2 separate regions of the Homo sapiens genome follow, and region 1 is linked to region 2. Evidence: promoter capture Hi-C in 16 types of primary human blood cells and fetal thymus (Javierre and others, 2016). All regions are on one chromosome and are shown on one strand. The core of a region is centred on a gene start or on the middle of the fragment in contact, and the rest is flanking DNA. Distances in the headings are between cores, read along the strand shown. Region 1 overlaps MIA3 (MIA SH3 domain ER export factor 3). Region 2 holds the start of CCSAP (centriole, cilia and spindle associated protein).

Region 1 (7,367 bases), core at 4-2,503, 6.7 Mb before region 2:
GGAGCAAAAGAAACATTGCCATTTTCAATTCTGATCTTATTCCCAACCTTAAATTGTCCATCATCTTAAACCTGGCCTCACACTCAATTATATCTGAGCTACAAAGCTGACATGTTGGAAAGTAATCAGAGTTTAGCTTCAAAAAACAAGTAGCCCCTTCCAAATCTATATGCGTGTATAGCCATTTAAAGGCACGTTTTTAATGTATTTTATTGCAAATTGGCTTTTGGAAAAAATCTTATTTCTATTCGTCCTTCTTTGTCTCTGCTATTTAGATGTATTTATTGTCCATTTCATCTTACATGGGAAACTGTGTATGTGGTCAACAAAAATAAAAGTACTGCTTCAGCCAGTTTCTAGATCAAGCGTGATTGAATTACTGACCTATTCTCATAGTTTTGCTTAGTCCCAGCCAAATGAGATGTCGACTTTTGATTTTGTTTATAGAAAAATATACATAAGGGTATTCTTTCCTTTGTTTTGAAACTTAATTTTGGATACAGTCAACATTATTTACTTTCAGAAAATATTGCCTTGTGATGTAATTGAATCTATAGTAGGGTGTGATAGATATCTTTTCCCATTAATTTATCCAGACACTGTACTAAGGGAACAACTTGGCTGCAAATGAAATTGACAGTGTTTACTGCTACATAGTACTGGTTACAGTCACTTGAAGATAGACCCTTTTAGTGGTTAGTTCAAGTTAATTGACCTCTTGGGGGTTCCTGGGTACTCTAGTTCCCTATTACCCGTTCATGTAGCCATGCTTAAGTTAATCATCATCTGGGCTTGAATTTACCCATTTGCAAAAGGAAGCTTTTTATGAATATGAAACAGAAAAGATTGAGGACTAGAAGGTTAGAGAGGGAATCGAGAGTTTCACTTGGGTGAGAAAAGCCATGTGTGGTAGTTGGCACATTGCTTTTTGTTTCTCAGTATTATCCATAGAGAAAAATAGAGAAGGTTTTCCTTTCCCTTGTCTGCTTGCAGAAGGTATGATTTATAGCAGTAAAGCTCAAAGGATTTGAGATACTTTGAGCATATGAAAGAAATTCCAGAGAGTACTGGAAAAACTTGGTTGTTGTTTATAGTGGGATTCTTATATTTCCTGATAAATCAATATGCACTGTGAACACTGAATCCTGATATCTGGCTATTTTTTTTCTCTCTCTTTATATACAGTGTTAATGTACCGCGGTGAGGCTCTTGAAGATTTCACAGGCCCGGATTGTCGTTTTGTGAATTTTAAAAAAGGTGATCCTGTATATGTTTACTATAAACTGGCAAGAGGATGGCCTGAAGTTTGGGCTGGAAGTGTAAGTAAAATATCGACATACTTTATTTGCTTAATTTTTATTGGCTTCTTTAGCACTGTAGAGTTAAATGACTGCATTTTCTTGGGACCTTTGATGGAGTTAACTTGTCCTCTCTGCCTGACTGTGAAAAAAGATGGCCCTGTGTCCCCAGCAGGCCTTGGGTCTGCACAGAGTAGGGGCTCAGCAGAGCCTTCTGAAATAGAACTGATTCTGGCAAGTTCCCCTCAGGGTCAACCTCTAGGATGCTGCATACGTATTAGAGGTTGAAATGGTAAGAGCTGAAAAATACTTCATTGCTTTAAAAAGGAAGTATTCATAGGAATTAGACTTACTCCTGTAAACTATATGTGAGAGAGTGTTTCAGGCATGTAAGCTTAAAGTTGATTTTATGTGTATTTCTTTGTTTATATTATTATTTATGAAAAAGTGGCAGTCTTGGGAACAGTTCCCTAATCATCTGTGCTATTATAAGTCTGTAAAAAAGCAAAATGTTGTTTCTCGTGTGCTTTCTTGTTTGTTTGTTTTTTTTTTTTTGAGGCGGAGTCTTGCTCTGTCGCCCAGGCTGGAGTGCCGTGGCGCGATCTCGGCTCACTGCAAGCTCCGCCTCCCGGGTTCACGCCATTCTCCTGCCTCAGCCTCCCGAGTAGCTGGGGCTGCAGGTGCCTGCCACCACACGGCTAATTTTTTGTATTTTTTTAGTAGAGACGGGGTTTCACTGTGTTAGCTAGGTCTCGATCTCCTGACCTTGTGATCCACCCACCTTGACCTCCCAAAGTGCTGGGATTACAGGCGTGAGCCACCGCAACCAGCCTCTTGTTTGTATTTTTGTTTGCAGCCTTGGGGTCATCCTTGTCCTGCTTTTCAGACACTTGTGTCTGGAGGTTACCCCAGGGGATTGATTCCCAGCTGATTTTATGGGTACCCTGCTATCAGACCTGGCAATCAATGACTGCATCATGCTTTGGTATTTTTAATGAGGAGATTCACTGGGAGTGACCTGATTGAGAGGCCTGTCTTATGAGTTATTGTCCTTTCCTTTTTAGAAAGCGTGATATGTGGACTGTGTCTTTACTTCAAGTAGTAAGGGTCCTCGATATCTTTAGGATTGTCCCAACTTAGAGAAATACCCATCCCGACTATGAAAGTTTTCACTGTCAGTAAAACACCAAACAAACAAAGAGAAAATAAGGCTTGAGAAATCCCCTTGGGGAAAATAGACTGATTTTGTTGGCATTCCAGGTTCCTAGGGAGTAATCTTGGGAAACAACAACTGGTCAGGTTCAGCTCTCCTATTTAGAGAGCATCCCAAGTGACTTGCTCCATACCAAAACAAATCTATTCTATTTCCTTCAAGTCTACCTAATGAGATTTGTTGATAATCTTTACTCTTGGAAATGTTTTTCCATGTACCTAGGCTGCGTTTTTTCATAGAAAAGTTAAGTTTTTTTTTCCACTCCTCATCTTTGAGCATTTGGATGAATGAACTTGACTTAACATTTTCCTCCCACTGCAGTTTTGCTCATTCACGTCTTCATCTCTGGATGTCCTGTCAGTCTTTCTGGGTCACACCTCTCATCCTGCCTTCTTAAGGAACGCTGCCTTCAGCACCCAGCCAGAAGGGATCTTTGCTGCCTGATGATTGTTTAGGTGGCACTTTGTTTGCACTGTTCATGTGGCATTTGCTTTACTGCTTTGTATGGCAGTTAATTTGTGTACTGTCTTAGCTCACGTAAAGTGAAAGACTCTTTAATGGAAAGGCTCATGCCTTATCTGTCTTCTTTTTCAGTATTTCCTGACGAGGCAGTGGCATTTATTTATATTTGTCCTGATATTATCTTATGCAGAATTTGTTCTCTTAAGGCGATACTCTACTTTCCCTCCTACCCCCCGCCCAAATGAAATCAACAGTACCTTGGCAGAAATGATGTATGAAAGCAAAATTAGACATAAAGATTTTTTCTTGTCATGTGAGCCTATGTTTTTTTTTTTGTTTTTTTTTTGGTCAAATCATAAGAAATGAGATGCCACCTGTGGTCCCAACTGACAAAGATTAAGGAAGGTAAATGTATTGTATTTCCCTTTCCCTATATACCTCTACCTCTGATTTGTTTCCTTTTTCCAGGTTCTCCCTTAAAATAGTCTCCCCTCTAATTTGATGAACCTTATTCTTAGGAAATTAAAAACTCTGTCTTCAGCTTTCAAAATGATTCTCATTTGTTTCTTAGTTTTCATTCTGCAGTCTTTTTTGGTTTCTTAGCATTTTAGACTTGATCTGCCAATAACACAGAGTTTAATTGCCCTTATCTAATCTCCATGGCAGTATTTTACTACTAATACTGGCTTTCAGATAGTTTTCAGATCAAGAGCACTCATGAATGGAGATGTTTTATGAATTAGTGATAAGATGGCCTTTTTTTCTTTTTGTGCATTTGATTTACATGCCAGCCTCCTCCTTTAATGATTGGGAGATCTACCTCTCCTTTCAGACAGTAGCTAGTAAAAGACTGTGTGTTTCTCAAGAGGGCACATTTTACTAGTGCTGAAAATGAATGGAATTATTTTCTGTAGAGATTTTGGTTTGCATGAAATGAAAGCTTGGTGGGCAGATTAGTGTGTATTACACTGTAATTTTGTTTTGTCTCCAGTTACCTGTAATATCGTTTTGGAAAATGGCAGTATAGCACATCATATGTGCAAATACAGTTCATCCTTGGGCAACACAGGTTTGAACTGTGTGGGTCCACTTATAATGCAGATTTCTTTCAATAAATATATTGTAAAATTTTGTGGAGGTTTGCATTAATTTGTTAAAAACTCTCAGACCGCATAGCCTAGAAATACTGAAAAAATTAAGAAAAAGGTATGTTATTGACATGTAAACCATATGTAGATCCTAGTGTATTTTATTCTTTACTACCATAAAACATACACAAATCTGTATAAAAAGTTACAGTTTATCAAAACGTACACACACAAACTCAGATCTTACATGGCACCTTTTGCAGTCGAGAGAAATATAAACAAACGTAAAGATAAAATATTAAATCATAATTGCATAAATTAATTGTGCTACCTACTGTACTATAATAGTTCGTAGCCACCTCCTCTTGCTATTCTAGTGAGCTCAAGTATTGTGAGTATCCACTTAAAATGCCATGCGACGCTAATCATTTCCACGTGAGCAGTTCATCTCTCCAGTAAATTGTACAGTGAGTAAAAAGTGATCTCTTGTGGTTCTCATGTATTTTTTGTGTTTAGTGCAATACTGTAAACCTTGAATAACACTCTGGGACCCATACAAAGTGTCACTAGTGATGTTGGAAGTGGTCTCAAATAGCGGAGAAAAGTAATGACATTACAAGAAAAAGTTGATTGCTTGATATGTGCTGTAGATTGAGGTTTGCAGCTCTATCGTTCATATTTCTCATACAGAATTTGATTGATATGTGTCCCTTTTGCCCATTCTTTTGTGTAGGTTGGACGCACTTTTGGATATTTTCCAAAAGATTTAATCCAGGTAGTTCATGAATATACCAAAGAAGAGCTACAAGTTCCAACAGATGTAAGTTGTGGATTTCTGTCTTGTTCTCAGTTATAAGTTGGCTTATAAGTGACTACCTAGAAAAAAAGAAAAATTTCAAAAGAATTTAAATGAGATTTTATCATAATCTGATAGTTATCTAATATATGGAAATAGATGTTCTTATATAAGGCTATGTACTCTTTTTTTTTTTTGAGTCGGAGTCTCGCTCTGTCACCCAGGCTGGAGTGGAGTGGCGTGATCTCGGCTCACTGCACGCTCTGCTTCCTGGGTTCACGCCATTCTCCTGCCTCAGCCTCCCAAGTAGCTGGGACTATAGGCGCCCACCACCACGCCTGGCTAATTTTTTGTATTTTTAGTAGAGATGGGGTTTCATTGTGTTAGGATGGTCTCGATCTCCTGACCTCATGATCCGCCCGCCTCAGCCTCCCAAAGTGCTGGGATTACATGCGTGAGCCACTGCGCCCGGCCAAGGCCGTGTACTCTTATACAAGGCTTTTCTTTGCTGCTTTATATGTGAAAAATTAAGAGTTCAGTAGTTTTATATTTACTTATTAATGTTAGAAGGCAAAAAATTTCATTTCACAAGCAAAAGGAGAAATTTGAAAACTACTTATTGGATAGCTGTTAGACATTTTAAGGATATAGAAATCAGGTTAAATTAATTAAGCTCTAATTTTATACTGAGCCAGAAATGCAAACTTACAAAGGTTTTCTTATTATTGACTCTGTAGTGATTTAAGCGATTATAGTTATAGATTTGGAAAAGGGAACCAGAGAGTTTCAGGTGAGGTCCAGTCTCATATCTGTAAGGCGCTAACTACACATTCTGTAGAGCATTTATCTATAGTGCACAATGGCTTCGTGACTAGAAGGATTTTGTGTTCTAGAATCTGCATTCCATCTGATTATTATTTTTTTGAGACAGAGTCTCTCTCTGCCGCCCAGGCTGGAGTGCAGTGGTGCGATACCAGCTCACTGCAGCCTCCGCCTCCCAGGTTCAAGCAATTCTCCTGCCTCAGCCTCTGGAGTAGCTGGGATTACAGGCGCCTGCCACCACACCCAGCCAATTTTTTTGTGTTTTTAGTAGGAACGAGGTTTCACCGTGTTGGCCAGGCTGGTCTCAAACTCCTGACCTCAAGTGATCCATCTGCCTTGGCCTTCCAAAGTGCTAGGATTACAGGCTGCCTTTCATATATATATATAAAAAACACCATGCCCAGCCCCCCATCTGATTGTTTTGTGAGTTTTAGAATTTATAGTAATTGATGTCTGCTTTCATTCAAAAGTCTTTGAGTAGCTCTTTGGAGTTGCTGCAGAGCGTGCAAGCTGCTGGGCTAGGGCAGTTCTTAGAAGAGATTGGCAGAGTGAAGTCACAGAGCTATTGCTATGCTTAAAATTTCTCGACGCTCTCAGGGGTTATATAGTCAATCGTATTGCCTGTTTGGCTTCACTCCTGATGAAGAGACTGCCCGGGATTTGAGTGTGAGACAGCAATTCATTGGTCACAGAGACCTGACCTGTATACTAATTGTAGTTCCCACTGCATGATTCCCTTAATATTAAAAAAATTGGCTCAGAAGTGTGCATGATGGAAAGAGGGAAGTCATTCATCTCCAGTACACAGGACAGTTCTCACCAGAAGATTGTGAATGTTTAGTTAGGGGAAGAAAGTTATCTTTGTTGGTTTTTTAACTTTTCCATCATTTTATGGCTCCTTGTATGTCAATTTGCTTACTGGTGGAGGAAGGGAAAAATACAGATTTACTTGACAGTCCTGAAAGCAGATCTTAGTGACTGGCTAGAATCCTTATTTGGAGTTAGGTACCTACCTTACTGAATCTTGTTTTCAAGTTGTTCTTGTGGCAGTATGAAAATGGGGAGCCTCCTTTACACCATTCTTTGTTCTCTTACATTTTTATATCTCATGCACCTGTATCTCAGTAAGTTCCTTCTGAAGCTGATTTCTTTCCCAGTCCAAGGAAAATATGAGCCCCAAATCCATGTAGACTGAGAGCCTGACAGCCAGGTGATTCTGCCTGTTTCTGACTGGGTGAGCAGAGAAGTATGACATAGAGGGCACAATGTAGAGAAGCTGATGGTCTTTCAGCTCCTCCTGGATGGGTTATAAGGTGAATTCCCAGAACATCAGGCATAGATGATGGGAGTTGGGGAACCCAATAAATGACACCTTACTTTTCCCCACCTGTGCTCAAAACAAAATTGAGAGACCCAGGAGTTGGGCAAATAGGAGATCAAAATGACCCCATTATTTACTGATAAAGCTGTTTGGAGTATGCAGAAATAATGGGCTTTCTAACATTGCGGTCTAAACTAAGATGGACTTATCCAGTCACAGACAGAGCTATCCAATAGGGGTCTCCCCAGGTGGGACTGTCCCTGTAAAACGGACAGCATGGAGGAACAGAATATGTGTTTCCTCTCCAGCAGGTCCCAAACAGAAAACAGGATTGGGACTGAGCAAACTCACCAGCCACATGAATCAT
Region 2 (6,827 bases), core at 1,801-4,300:
GATACAGAAATAAATACCAAAGGAAAAACCAGGGTGTTATGTATGGCATAGGGCTGATGTGCTTTTGTAATAAGTCAGACAGAACTACGTGATTCTATGTGCATCTATGGCTTCAGGGAAAGTAAAAAATTTTATATTTTATAGAAACTCAAAAGAGTGCTCATTGCACTAGTATTTAAAACCATCCACTTAAAAACCAGGATATTTAATCTTGTGCAAGCAACACAGGAGTCAAGAGGGCCTTACGGGTAGGAGCAAAACAAAAGATGCTGCGATTGAGTCCTGAAAGCAGAAAACATCCTTTCTTCTTCCTGATGCCTAAACCAGAAACGTTAGCAGGGAAGAAATAACTGAGAGGACGCTATATTTAAGGAAACCAAAATAATCATGAACTCAGAGCTTACCTGAGCTGGTAAATACAGGCACCATCCATATCACAACGCTGCCTAAAAATTGTATTTATATTGCATGCAAATATTTGACAACTCCATCACAAACAATAAAAGATCGGGGAGAGAAAAGCCATTTAGCCTGATAAAGTACATCTCAATTTAGCTAGCAGATCAGTACCCACAGGAATAATCTGGAAGGCATGTTCCCTACCCCCTCCACCTTCTGTTATTTGCATTTCTAGCAGTGATCACTGAAGCATCAGGATTTGTGGGGATTCACAAGTAACATCATGATGGGAGGAGGCAGCCCTGCCTCCGATGATGAGCTGAAAATAGCTGAAGATGGTAAAACCAAGAGCAAAGCAACCCGGCTCATAGCCGAAATTTCATCTCCTCCTCAGCCTCTCACAGAGAAGCCAGGAAGAGTCTGATTGGCTTGCAATCGGGTAAACAAAAATAAACACATAAATGAATAAAGTCACTGATCCTGAGCTTCCGTTTTTTCATCTATAAAACTGAGATTAGGGCCGGGCATGGTGGCTCACTCCTGTAATCCCAACACTTTGGGAGGCCGAGGCGGGCGGATCACGAGGTGAGGAGTTTGAGACCAGCCTGACCAACATGGTGAAACCCCGTCTCCACTAAAAATACAAAAATTAGCCGGGCGTGGTGGCGCGTGCCTGTAATCCCAGCTACTCGGGAGGCTGAGGCAGGAGAATGACGTGAATCCGGGAGGCAGAGGTTGCAGTGAGCCGAGATCGCGCCACTGCGCTCCAGCCTGGGCCACAGAGCGAGACTCCGTCTCAAAAAAAAAAAAAAAAAAAGATTACAACATGGTCTCTTTTGGGATTGTTTTGAATATTAAATGACAACATACATATTCCCAGATCAGTGACTGAATGTCTAACAGGCTCCCAATACATTTTCCATGTTTTCCTCACTCGAGCCTTTTTAAAATCCAGTGATCTGGAAGGAACCATTGGTTACTCCAGGCTGTACTGAGGCGTTCAACTGGGTCCCCAGCCCTGCAAGCCTCTGGGCAGGAAAGAAGGTGAAGGGGCCATGCCTTGAAAACACGCGCAGCGCCACCGGCGCTTTCGGATCTGGACAGGCGAGGGAGGATGGGGAGGGACGGAAGGGGAGAGGCCCTAGCACTTATAAAGATGCTCTCACAGCCAAGTTATTCAACACTCCACGTAAACAAATGCAAAATATTCTTTAGGGACAGCGTAGCGAGGTCGGGGAGTTAATACGGAAAACAATGGCCCCATTCATCAGACAAAGCTTAGCTCTGTGGTTCTTAACCTTTTGGGTTACCTTTGAGAATCTGATTAAAGCTGGGGCTCCTCTGATCAAAAATGGGCGCCTAGAAATAAGCAGATGGGACTCAGTGGTTCGCCAAGAAATAAGATGGGATTCAGAGGTTTGCCAAGCCGCAGAGGCCCGCGAGGAAAGACCCCAGACTCAGCCAGCGGCGCTTCAATTGAGTTCACCGCTGGCTCGACCGAAAGCCACCTAATTAAGGAAATAAAGGGTGGCAAAGGCTGCCACCTTCCCTATTTTGTCAAGAGAGACGGATTCTGTCAACCGAAAAAAAAAAAAGGAAGAGCCAGCCCCGAGTGGCGCAAGAAATAAGAGATCAGCTGCTCAGAGCTTAGAGCAAACCGTCCCTGCGTGCAGGCCCCTCGCGCTCCCCTCCGGGCCGGGTACCTGGCAGAGCCGCGTCCTCCGCGTCCTCGGCCTCCGCGTCCCCGGCCTCCGCGTCCTGCTCCTCCGGGGCCCCGCGCGCCCGCCGTTCCGCCTCCTCCTGGGTCGCCGGCTCTACGGGCGGCGGGGGCGAGGGCGGGGCGCACCGGGGTGCGGGGCCCCCGGCGCCCGACGACTCTGACGACGCCGAGTCCTCCGAGGAGCCGGCCGGGCCCCAGTCGTCCCAGAGCCAGGGCGCGTGCGCCTGCTCCAGCAGCCGGCGGCCTAGGCGGTAGTGCAGCAGCTCGCGGTAGCACGGCCCGTACTCCTCCCAGCGCGGCTCCTGGTAGCGCTTCATGTACTCGCTCTTCACCCCGCTCCCCGGGGACATGGTGCCGTCCGCCGCCTCGAGCGCCAGCCGCTCCTCGCTGCCCGCAGCCTACGGGACCCGGTACACGACACAGAGGCCGCCCCGCCCCTCCGCCGGCCCTGCCCGCCGCGACGTTTAAACCCGGAGCCCCGCCCGGACGGGAGCAGGGGGCGGGTCCCGGCGAGGGCGGGGAGGGGGCGGGGCGGGGGCGGCCTCACCCGGCGGCCGGGACCAAGAGCAGAGGCGGGGACCGGGGCTGCTGGGGTCGAGGGGCGCGCCGCCGAGGAGGGCTGCTCAGTGGGCGGAAGGCAGGGAGGCTGCGGGCTGGGGCGAGGGGACCGCAGGAGACTGGGGCTGAGCGGGAGGAGGAGCGAGGGAGGGGAGCGGCGGGGCCCGTGATCGGGTGGTCCTGGGGTCTCCGGAGGCGTCCCCTGAGCTAGGCGTGCGGTCCCGCGGGGCTGCCTTACCTCCTTCCCGCCGCGCCCGGCCGATCCTCTGCGCCCAGGCCCGAGGCGCGCGTGGCGCAGCAGCTAAAGCGCAGCTCGCTCTCCCGCGCGCTTTCCTCCTGAGCAAGATGTCGCCGCGGCGGCCCGCGCTCCAGCTGCAGGCGGGAGGCGGTGGCGCCGCCTCAGTCCCGGAGCCTCCACGCGCGCTCCCGGCCCCCGGGCCTCCGCCCGCTCCGTGGGGGCGGCTGCTTCCGTAGAGAGCGCGAGGCGCGGGGGTGCGGGCGTGCCTGCCAGTCCGAGGGGCCCAGGCCCAGGTCCCTGGCCCACTTATTTGAGGTGCCCGTCCACCCTGGTCCCAGCAGACGCTGTCCCAGGCACGCGTCACTCTGCAGGAGTCGTCAGTTAGGGGCAAGAGATGATCCCTCCAGATATGCAGCCCCCCCAGGCTGCGGCCGGGGGCGACACTCTCTGTCCTCACTCGAAACCTACCGGTTCTTCCTCTCTGTGTTCACAACACCTGTTACTCTGGCTTTAACTCCCTTTTATATCTACACTCCCCAAATTCTTTTAGATTTTGATCAAAACCATTTCACTCGCTCAGAGATTCGTTTGCACATAAAAGCTTGACAGATTAACTTACGTTGTGCAGAAGTATACAAAGTTGTCCCATTTGTTACAGTTTCAAAAGTGGCCCCACACTCTTTTCCCTTTTTACACATAAAACCTTCACAGATCCAGTTACTTTGTGCAGAAGTATACAACGTTGCCCCATTTGTTACAGTTTCAAAAGTGGCCCCGCACTGTTTTCCCTTTTTGCTCATAAAACCTCCACAGATCCGGCTGAGCGCTGTGGCTCACGCCTGTAATCCCAGCATTTTGGGAGGCCGAGGCGGGTGGCTCACGAGGTCAGGAGATCGAGACCATCCTGGCTAACACAGTGAAACCCCATCTCTACTAAAAAAATAAAAATAAAAAGAATTAGCCCGGCGTGGTGGTGAACGGCTGTAGTCCCAGCTACTCGGGAGCCTGAGGCAGGAGAATGGCGTGAACCCGGGAGGCGGAGCTTGCAGTGAGCCTAGATTGCGCCACTGCACTCCAGCCTGGGCGACAGAGCAAGACTCCGTCTCAAAAAAAATAAAAAATAAAAAATAAAAACCTTCACAGATCCAGTTACATTGTACAGAAGAATACAACGTTGCCCCATTTGTTACAGTTTCAGAAGTGGTCCTGCACTATTTTCCCTTTCTTAAAAAAAGAGCCTTGATACAGTAGCTGCAAAAAGATTTGAAAGGAAAAAACTTTTGGAAAATCTAAATATATATATAGCAGTTAAAAAGCAAGCCCAGGCCGTGAGTAGCGCTCACGGCTTCCACGTCAGGATTCCCACGAATTCACCTACTTTCTACGTGTCCGCATCCTGCCTCCCACCACCACCGCCCACCTCATCATAGCTAAATGATTCAGAGGCGGCTACTGGCCCAAATGGGGCGGGTCAGACCGTCTGCTCTGAAAACTTGAAGTTACTAGTCCAATCATTAGCACGGGATTGTGTTAATGGCAGTTTTCTGGACGGAAACTCCAGGATACCCTGCTGCTAATGAGTCCGCGGACGCCATGATTTCTCCCCTTCCCAACTTTATTTTCTGTTCCTTGACTTACATTAGGGACATTCTAATGCACTTTCCTTTTGTTTAAGCTGGCTGGGGTTGGTTTCTGATGTTTGCAACCAAAGTAGCCTTAATAAAGATTGAATAAGGTGGGGAAATGGTTATATGTAGTTCTATGGGACATGCAGGACACCATCGGTTTCAGCTTTTGCTGCATAATTCACTCCAAAACTCAGTGGTTTAAAACAGCTAAGATTTATTATTTCTTATGATTCTGAGGGTTAGCTGGGCAGTTCCTCCGCAGTTGGATTCTGATGGAGAGACAGCAGGGCTGGAAGTTTCAAGATGACCTCCTGATATAGTTGGGATAATTCCTCCAAATCTGAAGTTGAAATTGATCCCCAATGTTGGAGGTGGGGCCTAGTGGGAAGTGTGTGGGTCATGGGGGCAGATCCCTCATGCATGGCTTGGTGCCATTCTTCAGTAACGAGTGAGTTCTCACTCTTTTAGTTTGCATGAGAGCTTGTTGTTCAAAAAGAGCCTGGCATGTCCTCCTCTCTCTCTCTCACTCCCTTTCTCTCTCCATGTGACATGACAGCTCCCCTTCCCCTTCCACCATGATTGGAAGCTCCCTGAGGCCTCACCAGAAGCAGATGCTGACACTGTGCTTCCTGTATAGCCTGCAGAACCATGAGCCAAATAAACCTGTTTTATTTATAAATTACCCAGCCTCCGGTATTCCTTTATAACAGCACAAAACAAACTAGTACACCTCCCTTACATAACTGGCAGTGGGGTGGGCTGTGGGCTGGGCCGTCTTGGTCACATCCTCCAGAAGCCTGGACTGGCATCTCAAGGTCATATACATCTCCTGCTGCATTCTCACGTTCAAAGAAATCACAAGGCTAAGAGTCAAGGGAGAGAAATGAACTTCCCTTCTGCATAAGAGGAGCAGCAAATTCACATTCCAAAAGGGATTGCATACCGGGTGAAGGAATTTGCGGGCATATTTTACAATCTTCAACACAACACACACACACACACACACACACAAATATAAGGGCACTCTGGGAGGCCAAGGCAGGCGGATCACCTGAGGTCAGGAGTTCAAGACCAACCTGGCCAACATGGCGAAACCTCATTTTTACTAAAAATACAAAAATTAGCTGGACTTGGTGGTGCATGCTTGTAGTCCCAGCTACTCCGGAGGCTGACAGGAGAATTACTTGAACCTGAGAGGCAGAGGTAAGCTGAGATCATACCACTGCACTCTAACCTGAGCGACTGCACCCTATTTACAAGAGAGGCTTGCAAATATCTGGCTTTTCTAGGTTCTACACTGGCATGGGAATTCATAAAAAGTGTCAAGTAGATAGCGGATGTCTCCTGAGTATGTTTGTATTTGGAAGGGGCAGTCGGGGGCTGGGGACGGGGGGAGAGAGAGGGAGAGAGAACAGCACCATCCAGAGACAAATGGGAAGGAGAGGGCAGTGGATGGAAGGAGCACTGTGTGGGAGGAGTGGGTACAGAGCACGTGAATTGGGGAGGAGTCAGGAGGAGTGGGTACACAGCATGTGAGTTGGAAGATCAGCTTTTTCTCAGAAGCAAGGAAGAGGGAAGTTGAGGAAGCCCTCGGAGGATGGCCTCCCCTGGCTCAGAAGAAGAAAATTATTGAGATAGGATGGGCTGGCAAGCTGAGGGAGTGATAGTGCCAGAGGCTTAGGGTGGAAGGGCTCCAAGAGGTTCAGCCACACCCCCCGAGAGGTGGACAGCCTTCATGTCCCTGTGAGGCTGCCTGTTCTGCTCCTGGCCAGACTCGGTCGCCAGCAGATTTTCTCATGTGGAATCTGTATGCCTGTGTGGCAAATATCTATTGTTTATCTTTCAGGAGTGCAGCTCCAGGCCCTTTTTTTTTGGAGATGGAGTCTCACTCTGTCGCCCAGGCTGGAGTGCAGTGGCGCGATCTTGGCTCACTGCAACTCCCCTTCCTGAGTTCAAGCTATTCCCCTGCCTCAGCCTCCTGAGTAGCTGGGACTACAGGCACCTGCCACCATGCCCGGCTAGATTTTGTATTTTTAGTAGAGACAGAGTTTCACCATGTTGGCCACGCTGGTCTTGAACTCCTGACCTCAGGTGATCCATCTGCCTCGGCCTCTCAAAGTGCTGGGATTACAGCATGAGCCACTGTGCCTGGCCAGATCTTCCTTTCTATTGGCTCCCCAATCTCCATCAGAGGAAGATGCCCCTCCTCGCCCAGGGCTGCCTCCCATCCAGGGCTTCCTCTGCCAAAATTGAGGGCACAGATCCTCCCTCTCCTGCCTATGCC

The links. Contacts are between HindIII fragments. The CHiCAGO score rates a contact against its expected background, and 5 or more counts as called.
Region 1: a contact is called between a fragment that was not itself captured here and the fragment with the promoter of CCSAP in region 2, in 1 of 17 cell types (neutrophils). The highest score is 6.7, in neutrophils.

Annotation. Positions count from the first base shown.
Region 1 is chr1:222,619,974-222,627,340 of GRCh38, forward strand. It overlaps MIA3 (MIA SH3 domain ER export factor 3), which reads left to right. Exons shown (of 28, transcript NM_198551.4): 2 at 1,186-1,319; 3 at 4,795-4,881. Among named protein-coding and RNA genes, the nearest start is that of MIA3, 5.6 kb to the left of the region's middle. The HindIII fragment of the contact is 873 bases long and covers 818-1,690 here.
Region 2 is chr1:229,339,997-229,346,823 of GRCh38, forward strand. CCSAP (centriole, cilia and spindle associated protein) reads right to left here and starts at 3,051. Exons shown (of 4, transcript NM_145257.5): 1 at 2,916-3,051; 2 at 2,103-2,517. The coding sequence starts at 2,469. RefSeq lists silencers at 2,100-2,299, 2,500-3,359, 4,206-4,500. The HindIII fragment of the contact is 1,840 bases long and covers 1,675-3,514 here.